3 separate regions of the Homo sapiens genome follow, and all the other regions are linked to region 2. The links are contacts of gene promoters, found by promoter capture Hi-C in human tissues and cell types (Jung and others, 2019). All regions are on one chromosome and are shown on one strand. The core of a region is centred on a gene start or on the middle of the fragment in contact, and the rest is flanking DNA. Distances in the headings are between cores, read along the strand shown.

Region 1 (2,700 bases), core at 83-2,582, 360 kb after region 2:
CAAAATTGTATATTTATTATTACAGTTAAGCCTATTTAGGTAGTTCAAATCAAATACAAGAGAACACATCAGGTCATCATATTTTTTTTCACTGTTAAAATGAGGTATTCTGGCTTTACAATGTTGTAAGTTGAAGTAAGCAGTTTAATCAAAGTTACAAGAAAGAAGACGAGATATATACTTGGACAATTATTTCCTAGGGGTAAAAAGCCAAGTGAAATGTGTATGAATAAGATAATTAAGCCACAGAATACATTTCAGAATATCAAGAAGCATATGTGCAAAATTTTAATTCTAACCTTAAAATTGGTATACTTTATTATTATTATCATTTTACTTAGCAAACAACATGCACCATACTGTAAAACAAGCAATACAGGACAAAATAGCATATCTATTAGAGCATTTATCAGGTTCACGTATCATCTGAATTGACCAAGACTTATTTTCACTATGACAATTTCTGTATTTTTCTAATTGCTCATCAGTGAGGTTAAGTAGTACAGTTGGCATATACACACAAAGAATGCATACACAATCTGTATTTAATACTTATTATTATATTGGGGTATAAGTTACTAAGTATAATAGCAGCAAGGTACCACTATTTCTAGAACATGTTCTAAGACTTATCATATTGAGACTGTAGATTCACGACTGAAGTGTTATTAGTGCTATAAACTAATAACAAATGTAAAACTGCAAATGTACAGAGCTACCAAAGGCCTATTTGACTTTTCAAAGTGCTGTGCTTCTTGTTGGGCTTAATGTTTGTGAGCAAGCCCCTGCTATTTGAATTAAGTATTGGTCCCAAGTTCTGGGCTCCAGTATAGTTCTAATGATTGGATGTAGGTTGAGGGGTAGAATAATGCATTTGAAAAGAGTAAGAAGCAATAACCACTGTGATAAGAGTGTATTGGACATCACTGAACACACGTGCCTATCACTGTAAGCTTTGCCAGCATCCTGTGGTTAGCAATAATCAGCAGATGATGGAGAATGGCCAGGAGACAAAAGGAAAAAGTAGTATTCTATGAAGGAGACGGGAAGGAATGACACAGAATATGCCTCTAGACTGTTGATGGGCTTGCCTCGGCAAATGGTGAGCCTGAATTCCCCCCAAATATAAGGGTAAATATTTATCTAAACTATTTGGCTTAGAAATGAGTTTGAAAAGTCCTAAAAGTTTTGCTGGAGAATATAATAGAATACTATATCCACTGCAGGGTAGAAAGAATTTTCTTGAATTATTTGTATAGTGTCTAAGACTGTGATATTTTGAGAAAATCAATCGCATTTTGTGGTGTATTCTTCTGGGTTAGGGCCTGTTTAGGGTTATAGTGCTATTGGAGTCCTTGTTTCTAGAAGGAAACTGGGGAATCCAGAAGCTACGGAGAGCGTCCCTTGGGGTAGTAATGAGCTGTTTGGTATCATTTGAAATTAAGGGTAAAGTTTCTACCTAAATTACTTATCACTCAAACAGTTCACTCTGTGTGTCCCAAGGCAATGGTTGTAAGTGACAACGCTATGGTGCCAAACACCAGGGAGCAGCCAGAGGCAGAGGGCCAAGATATCCTGGAACATTAGTGGAACTCAGAAGACAACCATGTTCTATGCTATGCAAAAGAAACTTCCTGTCAGTTTGGATATTTGATGCTATCATTTCTATTCACTTCCTCTTGGCATAACAAGTCTGTTTAGCATGTACTGGGAAAGCCCACCTCTCAAGAGTCCACATACATGTTGGCAGATTTCTTTGAGCTCTACACATTTCATTATATGGATCATCAAAGGTGCCATTCCTAGATAAGTTCTGCCATCCTACATCACACTGTTGGGAAATAAGCCCAAGCAGCTTTTCCACCCAAGCCACAGAAGGAAGAATAGCATATCTGCACACCCCCTGAGTATAAGGCATTTAATCTAATCATTAGGGACCTTATGATTGGGGAGCTAATCAACCAAGATTTGCAAATCAGTCAGCACTAAAGTAGCAGACAGCATCTTCAAAGATGAAGGAACCAAGAAAGATTTAGCACAGGATCACATGCTCAGCTAACGGAGCGGAGTCTCATGGCTGTGCTCCAATCATTAGCCCACTCTGTTTCTTAGAATCTAACAGTAAAAATTTGAAATTAGCTACTAAGAAACATCACACAAACTTCAACTGTGGCATGAACTAAATCTGCAGGATGGACTGGTTTCATGTAGCTCTTTTACTTCCCAGGAAGAAGTAGTTTCATTTCCATCTGAATTTCTTCTGTTGCTCCACCTTTAGCATTGTGCTAAGCCTCCTAGCTGGGAGGTAGTAATGTCTCATTGGGAAGCACTTTCTCATGGCAAGATTCTCAAAACGAGAGATGGAAAGTCCCGCCACGCCATAAAACTGCATTTAATTCCAGAATACTCTACTACGTTGTCTTATTGAGAAGAAACAATTTTTTTGGATGAATATGAGATCATGTAAAAAGAACTAGGATTCCTAAGATGGATCATTACCTGGGCTCAGATTTTGTGCTTTTCTTTGAGTTTATAATAAAATCCTGGGACTGTGGCTTAACTGCTCTCGGTAATTCAGGGTTTAGATTCAGTGCTAAGGAAAATGACTAAAAGTAATTACCATTGAGTTTAATACAGCAAATATAAAAACTTTTTTGGCATGACTCTCTTGGAGGTCTGCCACTAATTTAAAATTTAATG
Region 2 (2,700 bases), core at 72-2,571:
CTTTGTTCAACCTTCATTCTTCTGTGGCATTCATATTTTATTCAGAAATAAGTTTCCAAATTACTCTCCAGAGTACCTATAAAAGCAGACTTTGCAATAGTTCCAGGAATCAATGTAGAACAAAAGCAATGCTTTCAACTTTTGAATTTCCTGCTTATCCCTAAAATCAACAGCTGGGCAGCCAAAAAGTTGGGGGTGGAGGAGTGGGGCCTAGAAAGATCAGGTCGGGGCTCTATATGGGGAGTTCTGTGCACCCAGAAAACCTCAAGCCAATCTTAGGAGTTAATCAGAAGGTGGATGGCTGGGAAGTCAAAGCTCTGATGTTTTACAAGTCTTTGATGAGAGTGAATAATGTTCCCATCATTGCTAGGGATGAATCAGAAAAGAGCTTGGCCTAAAAATAGCCAGGGACTTCCTTAGGGATTGAGAGGAGGTAAAAGCAAGGTGGGCGAAGTCTCAACCTTCGAGACAAGAACTTTGAAATTATTTTCTTTCAATTGAGCAGGGCAAGTTCACCTCCCCCGCGCCGACCCCCTAACCCGCCCGCCCCATCTCTACGCCAGCCCTACCCCTTCTCCCCTTCTGACCGCTTTCTCTCCTCTGTGCTCTCCCCTATCTCTCTTCCGGCAGAATCCAATGGCCAGGCTGGGAGAAGGCAGAAAGTGCTTGGCGGATGGTAGGCATGGAAGAAGGCTGGGGGCTGCGGCGAGGTGGGTGGAGGGGAGGGAGAGAAGTGGCAAGGCAGTGAAGGTAAGAGGAGGACAGAAGAGATTCTGAGAGAAGGAGGATACTCAATTTGTCATTCTCATTCTCCCTACTGGAAAAAAGAAAAACTGAATTAAAAGTTACATAACTTTAAAAAACTACTTCCATCTCCGGAATACCTCTCTGAAGACAGCAGCGGCCACACCTCACCACTAGGATTCCTAAAGCGCCTCGGGGGTCAGAGGGGTTGGAGGACCCCAGGGGCTGGGGAGGGGACTGCTCGGGCCGAAAGGTGTCGCGGTGACTCGGCTCCATTCAGAGCACTCGAGCGCGCCCCACCCTCGCTCGGCGCCGTCGACGCCCCGCCTGACTGGAAACCCGAAACTCGCGGGTGCCAGGCCCGGGTCCTACTACTGTCCCGCCGCCGGCAAGTTAGGGCCAGCGCCAAGGGGACCTTACCTCGGCCGGGGGGACCTCCTCGTCCAAAGAAGGGAAGACCTTGTCGGCACCATTGAGAGGCGTGTTCTCTTCTGGCTGCCGCTCGAGCACCGAGAGCTCCAGCTCGTCTACTGGCTGTGAGGGTTGGGCCAGGTCCATGTGCCGGCAGGGAAAGTCTGAGCGGCTCCGCGGGAGGCCACAGCGCCGGCGAGTCGAGCGACCTCCCCGCCTCACACTCCACCCACTGGGCGGGGCGTCGCGGACCTCGGGCGGCGGGAGCGGACCGGAGCGGACAGGAGGGGCAACTGTGAGTGGCGGCCACTCCCTGGATCCCGCGGGGTAGAGCACCTGAGGCCGTGCCGGAGTGGGCTCCAGAGCCGAAGGCTGTTTTTCTGATTTGTTCAGGGCGCTGCCTGCTATGCCTTTCCCCGCGCCTGCAGATGCAGACCATCTCCGTTTAGGGGCTGCCTGGGTGCCGGGCTGTGGTAAGGAAAGGGTGGGCCCGGCAGCACCGTCCAACGGAGAAAAGTTTGCGATCTAACCCTACGAACTGTTGGTTGTTGGGGTTTGCCACAGTCCTCGCGGCCTAGCAAAAGTGCATTCATTCAATCAACAAATAACCATGCCTCGTGCCAGCATGGTGCTAGGTTCTGAGTGCATGAAGGTGAATAATATACACCAACACACTTCCTCGCAAGTCCAGAGTCAGGCACAGAGACAGTATTGTGTGGTGCTGGGGACAGCGGACTCTAAAACCAGTGTACCTGGGTTATTCTCCACCCAGAGGGTTCCTCACTGTGAGACCTCGGTCTTCATCTCTCTGTGCCAACGTCCTCATCTGGAAAGTTGGTGTAATATTTGTACCCTCCTAAATGTAGTTGTTACCAGGATTACAAGGGTTGTTGTAAGCAAAGCACTCAGAACAGTGATTGACACAGCAAGCACTCATAAATGACCATTATTATTTATCTTTGAGAGGAGGGGCCTTACACACACACACACACACACACACACACAATGCACGCGCACACACAATCTCCTTGACACCCTATCTGTAGTTCAGAACTTCCGGTTTAGTTAGCATGGAATTATGTTTGTTAAGCACAGCATGGGTTGGGCCAAGGGCCTCAACTCTCAAGCTTCTGTTCCGAATAGTCTTGCTCCTTACTTCTCACCCTCCACGCAACACACACACACACACACACACACACACACACATTAAGACCAGACCATTAACAAGAAGCATATAAATCAGCTCCACTCCAAATATGTTGACTTGAGTCCAAAAGTCTGGCATCTTCAGTACCTGATGTTGAGACACAGCCTAGATATCCTGTCTCCAGCAGTCTGATGCCTGCTACCAGATCCCCTGAACTTTGGATCCATCTGCCTGCTAAGGGGAGTCTGCAGTGACTCATCTGCTGACCTGCACTGACTTCTGCTCCAACAGGTGGATCTTGCAAGAATCAGGCTGCATTCTCAGCTGGGATTTTTGAACAGGTTTTTTAACCAAGGAGCAAGGGTTAAGGGAATCAACAAGGCATGGTGACGTACCCA
Region 3 (2,700 bases), core at 64-2,563, 420 kb after region 2:
TGGCAGGCATGACAAGCACTGATCCTGGCATTTCTTTCAAGCTGCATAGTTTGTTTTTGTAAATTCATTCACATTTTGTTACACACACACACACACACACACACATGCACACACACACACAAAATTGATGTTCTGGATGTGCTATGTTTGCCCTGTGGCTTCGAGTCCCTTCTGGCACACGCCTTTATTCTTGGGTACTTGTGACCCCTAATGTGAAAGTCCTAGGTCTGGAAGAAAGGCACCAAGAAGTCAATTAGGCACAAGAAAGCTCTGTTCACTCATGGCCCAGCCAACTTTAGTAAAGTAGAAGACTATGAGTGGATTTGAAACCAAAGCTTGAAATCGTGTCTATTTGCCCAAACCTTAGGCAACCTGGAGCAAACGCTGGTGAAGAATCAAGATTATGAGCCATTAGACTGTCTTCTTAAAGAGAGTAGAGAACTGAAAGCTTCCCACCTAAGCTTAACTCCCTCCTCTTGAGTTGACCAGGAGAAAGTTTCACTTGTAGGGCTCATCCTGCCCTTCTGGTACCGAATGTACAATATTAAAGCCTGATAAATTTACACAGCGGAAGTAGAAGACAAGAGGCCTCTGACTCAGGTCTCAAACTCCTATGAATCTTTAGCCTGCTGAGGTATGTTCTTGCTCCAAGAGTTTTAGACTAAGTTTCCTCACCTGTCTAGACTGGTGTTCTGTGTCTACTTACTTGAGTCTTCACTGATTCCTTGGATCTGTTTTTTTTTTTTTTTTCCTCTGCACCTATGATGCCTGCCTGATTCTACCAATCTGGGCTAAACTTTGAAACTGACTCAGTGGCCTATTCAGCCTAAGGCATCTGCCAAGCTGCCCAGATTTAGGTCCTGACCTCTCCTGGCCTGACTGACATGCCACAATAAAAATCATTAGAAGAAGAGCATTGATTTAAAGTGGATATATTAGTCTGTGATGTGAAGTGAGTCAAAAGAAAAGCTCAACTCACCATACTTGAGTGACAATCACCACCTTTAGCAAATTCTCTGCTCCACAAGGCATTTTTCTTTCTCCTACTCACTCATTTGCCATTTCCTGTCATTCATTCACATGATACTGAATTGAATACTACTTTGTGTCTGGCCTCATCCTCACAGTGGGGGCGTTGAGGAGTGAAGGCAGCTTTCCACCTTTGAGGACATTTGGGTCCAACAGAGTTCACAGCCCGCATTCCCTCATCTTGGAGTGACATTGCACGTTTTGACATAAACATTAAAGCAACAATAGCAAACTGAAAAATTTCATCTCAGTAGATAGGACAGAGAGTATCTTCAAATAGTATTTATTGAACAGATAAATATTGGTCAAGCTGTGTACCCAAAATTTGGGGTGATGGGTAAAAGTCCTGTAGGAGGAGGTTCTGTAGAAGTGATTGCTGAGCCTTCTTCCTGCCCCCGCTCCTGTGTGGGGAGCCCCAAGTAGGAATGATGAGCAGGAGTCTGCCCAGTTCTGCCACATGTGTGGGATCTTGCTGCAGGGACTGCTGTAAACTGTGAATTGTTTCCGTAGTTTCTACTAAAGTAGCAACAAAAAACACTGCCCAAGGGTTTGAGGGAGGAATGAAAGTCTCTTTCTTGGGTGGAGTCTGGAGAAACACAGCTTAGTTTTCTTTGATATGAAATGGTTCAACGGTGAGAGGGTAAGTTTGCTCTGGAGTTTTGGGAAAATCAAAGGGCTCCAATTATCTCCTTAAGAAAGGAAAATTGATTGAAGTTTTGGTGGATCCCAGCCAATACCTAGGGTAGAATAAGACCCAGAAATGATATAAAAACAGCGAACTTATGGGATGAATCCTTGCTTATTTTCTTTCTGAACTTTCAGATTAAACAATGCTCAGAGAAAAGAGAAAGAATCCTGCCCCCCACGCCAATGAAACAGCATTTTGGATTTTGTCATACTGTAAAAAGGTTGCAGTCTTGGAAAAATAGGGTAGTTTTGAGTCAAATTAAGAATCTTTCATTAGGGTCTTGCTCAAGTACTTTTTGTTTAAACTTTCTACTTGGAAATAATTTCAAACTTCAAAAAAAGTTGCAAAAGTAAAAATATTAAAAGACACACACACACACATACACACACACACACACACACACTTATTCCATCTACCTAGATTCATCTGTCTTTAACAATTTACCCCCTTTACTTTGTCATTTGCTTCCATCTCTCTCTGTATGCATATACATGTATATCTATACATGCATGTATGTATGTATAAGTGTATGCATATACATATGCATGCACACATGAACACACACCCTTTGAGGCTAAGTTATTTATATCATAGTCCTTTGACTGCTAAATAATAACTGTGTATTTCCTAAGAATAAAAATATCTCTTACATAACAACATCGGAGTTATAAATACTTTTATCTAGTCATCTGTCCATATTCTAATTTTGTCAGTTGATCTAATAAATGTCTTTCATACCATTTCCCCCCTTCTAGTACAGGATTCAATCTAGAGTTAGGTATTGCAATCAATTGTCATGTCTCTTTAGCCTCCTTTAATCTAGAATATTTTCAGAGCCTTTCTTTATATTGACATTTTTGAAAAATATAGTCCTCTCTCCCTTTTTAATATACCTTTTTTTTGTTTAAAATTTCAACTTTTATTTTAGATACAGGGGTACATGTACAAGTTGCATGAGGATATTGTGTGATGCTGAGGTTTGG

Evidence for each region. Contacts are between HindIII fragments. The study calls those that stand out against the background at their distance.
Region 1: a contact is called between a fragment that was not itself captured here and the fragment with the promoter of C3orf52 in region 2, in 1 of the 25 tissues and cell types used here (mesendoderm cells).
Region 3: a contact is called between a fragment that was not itself captured here and the fragment with the promoter of C3orf52 in region 2, in 1 of the 25 tissues and cell types used here (spleen).

Annotation. Positions count from the first base shown.
Region 1 is chr3:111,724,188-111,726,887 of GRCh38, reverse strand. PLCXD2 (phosphatidylinositol specific phospholipase C X domain containing 2) reads right to left here. Exons shown (of 4, transcript NM_001413064.1): 4 at 1-2,700. Among named protein-coding and RNA genes, the nearest start is that of PLCXD2-AS1, 48 kb to the right of the region's middle. The HindIII fragment of the contact is 4,577 bases long and covers 1-2,700 here.
Region 2 is chr3:112,085,010-112,087,709 of GRCh38, reverse strand. C3orf52 (chromosome 3 open reading frame 52) reads right to left here and starts at 1,321. Exons shown (of 6, transcript NM_024616.3): 1 at 1,165-1,321. The coding sequence starts at 1,302. RefSeq lists silencers at 1,407-1,456, 1,477-1,526, 1,577-1,626 and an enhancer at 1,143-1,659. The HindIII fragment of the contact is 9,818 bases long and covers 1-2,700 here.
Region 3 is chr3:111,664,593-111,667,292 of GRCh38, reverse strand. It overlaps a transcript of CD96 not described here. Among named protein-coding and RNA genes, the nearest start is that of PLCXD2, 8.7 kb to the left of the region's middle. The HindIII fragment of the contact is 3,023 bases long and covers 1-2,700 here.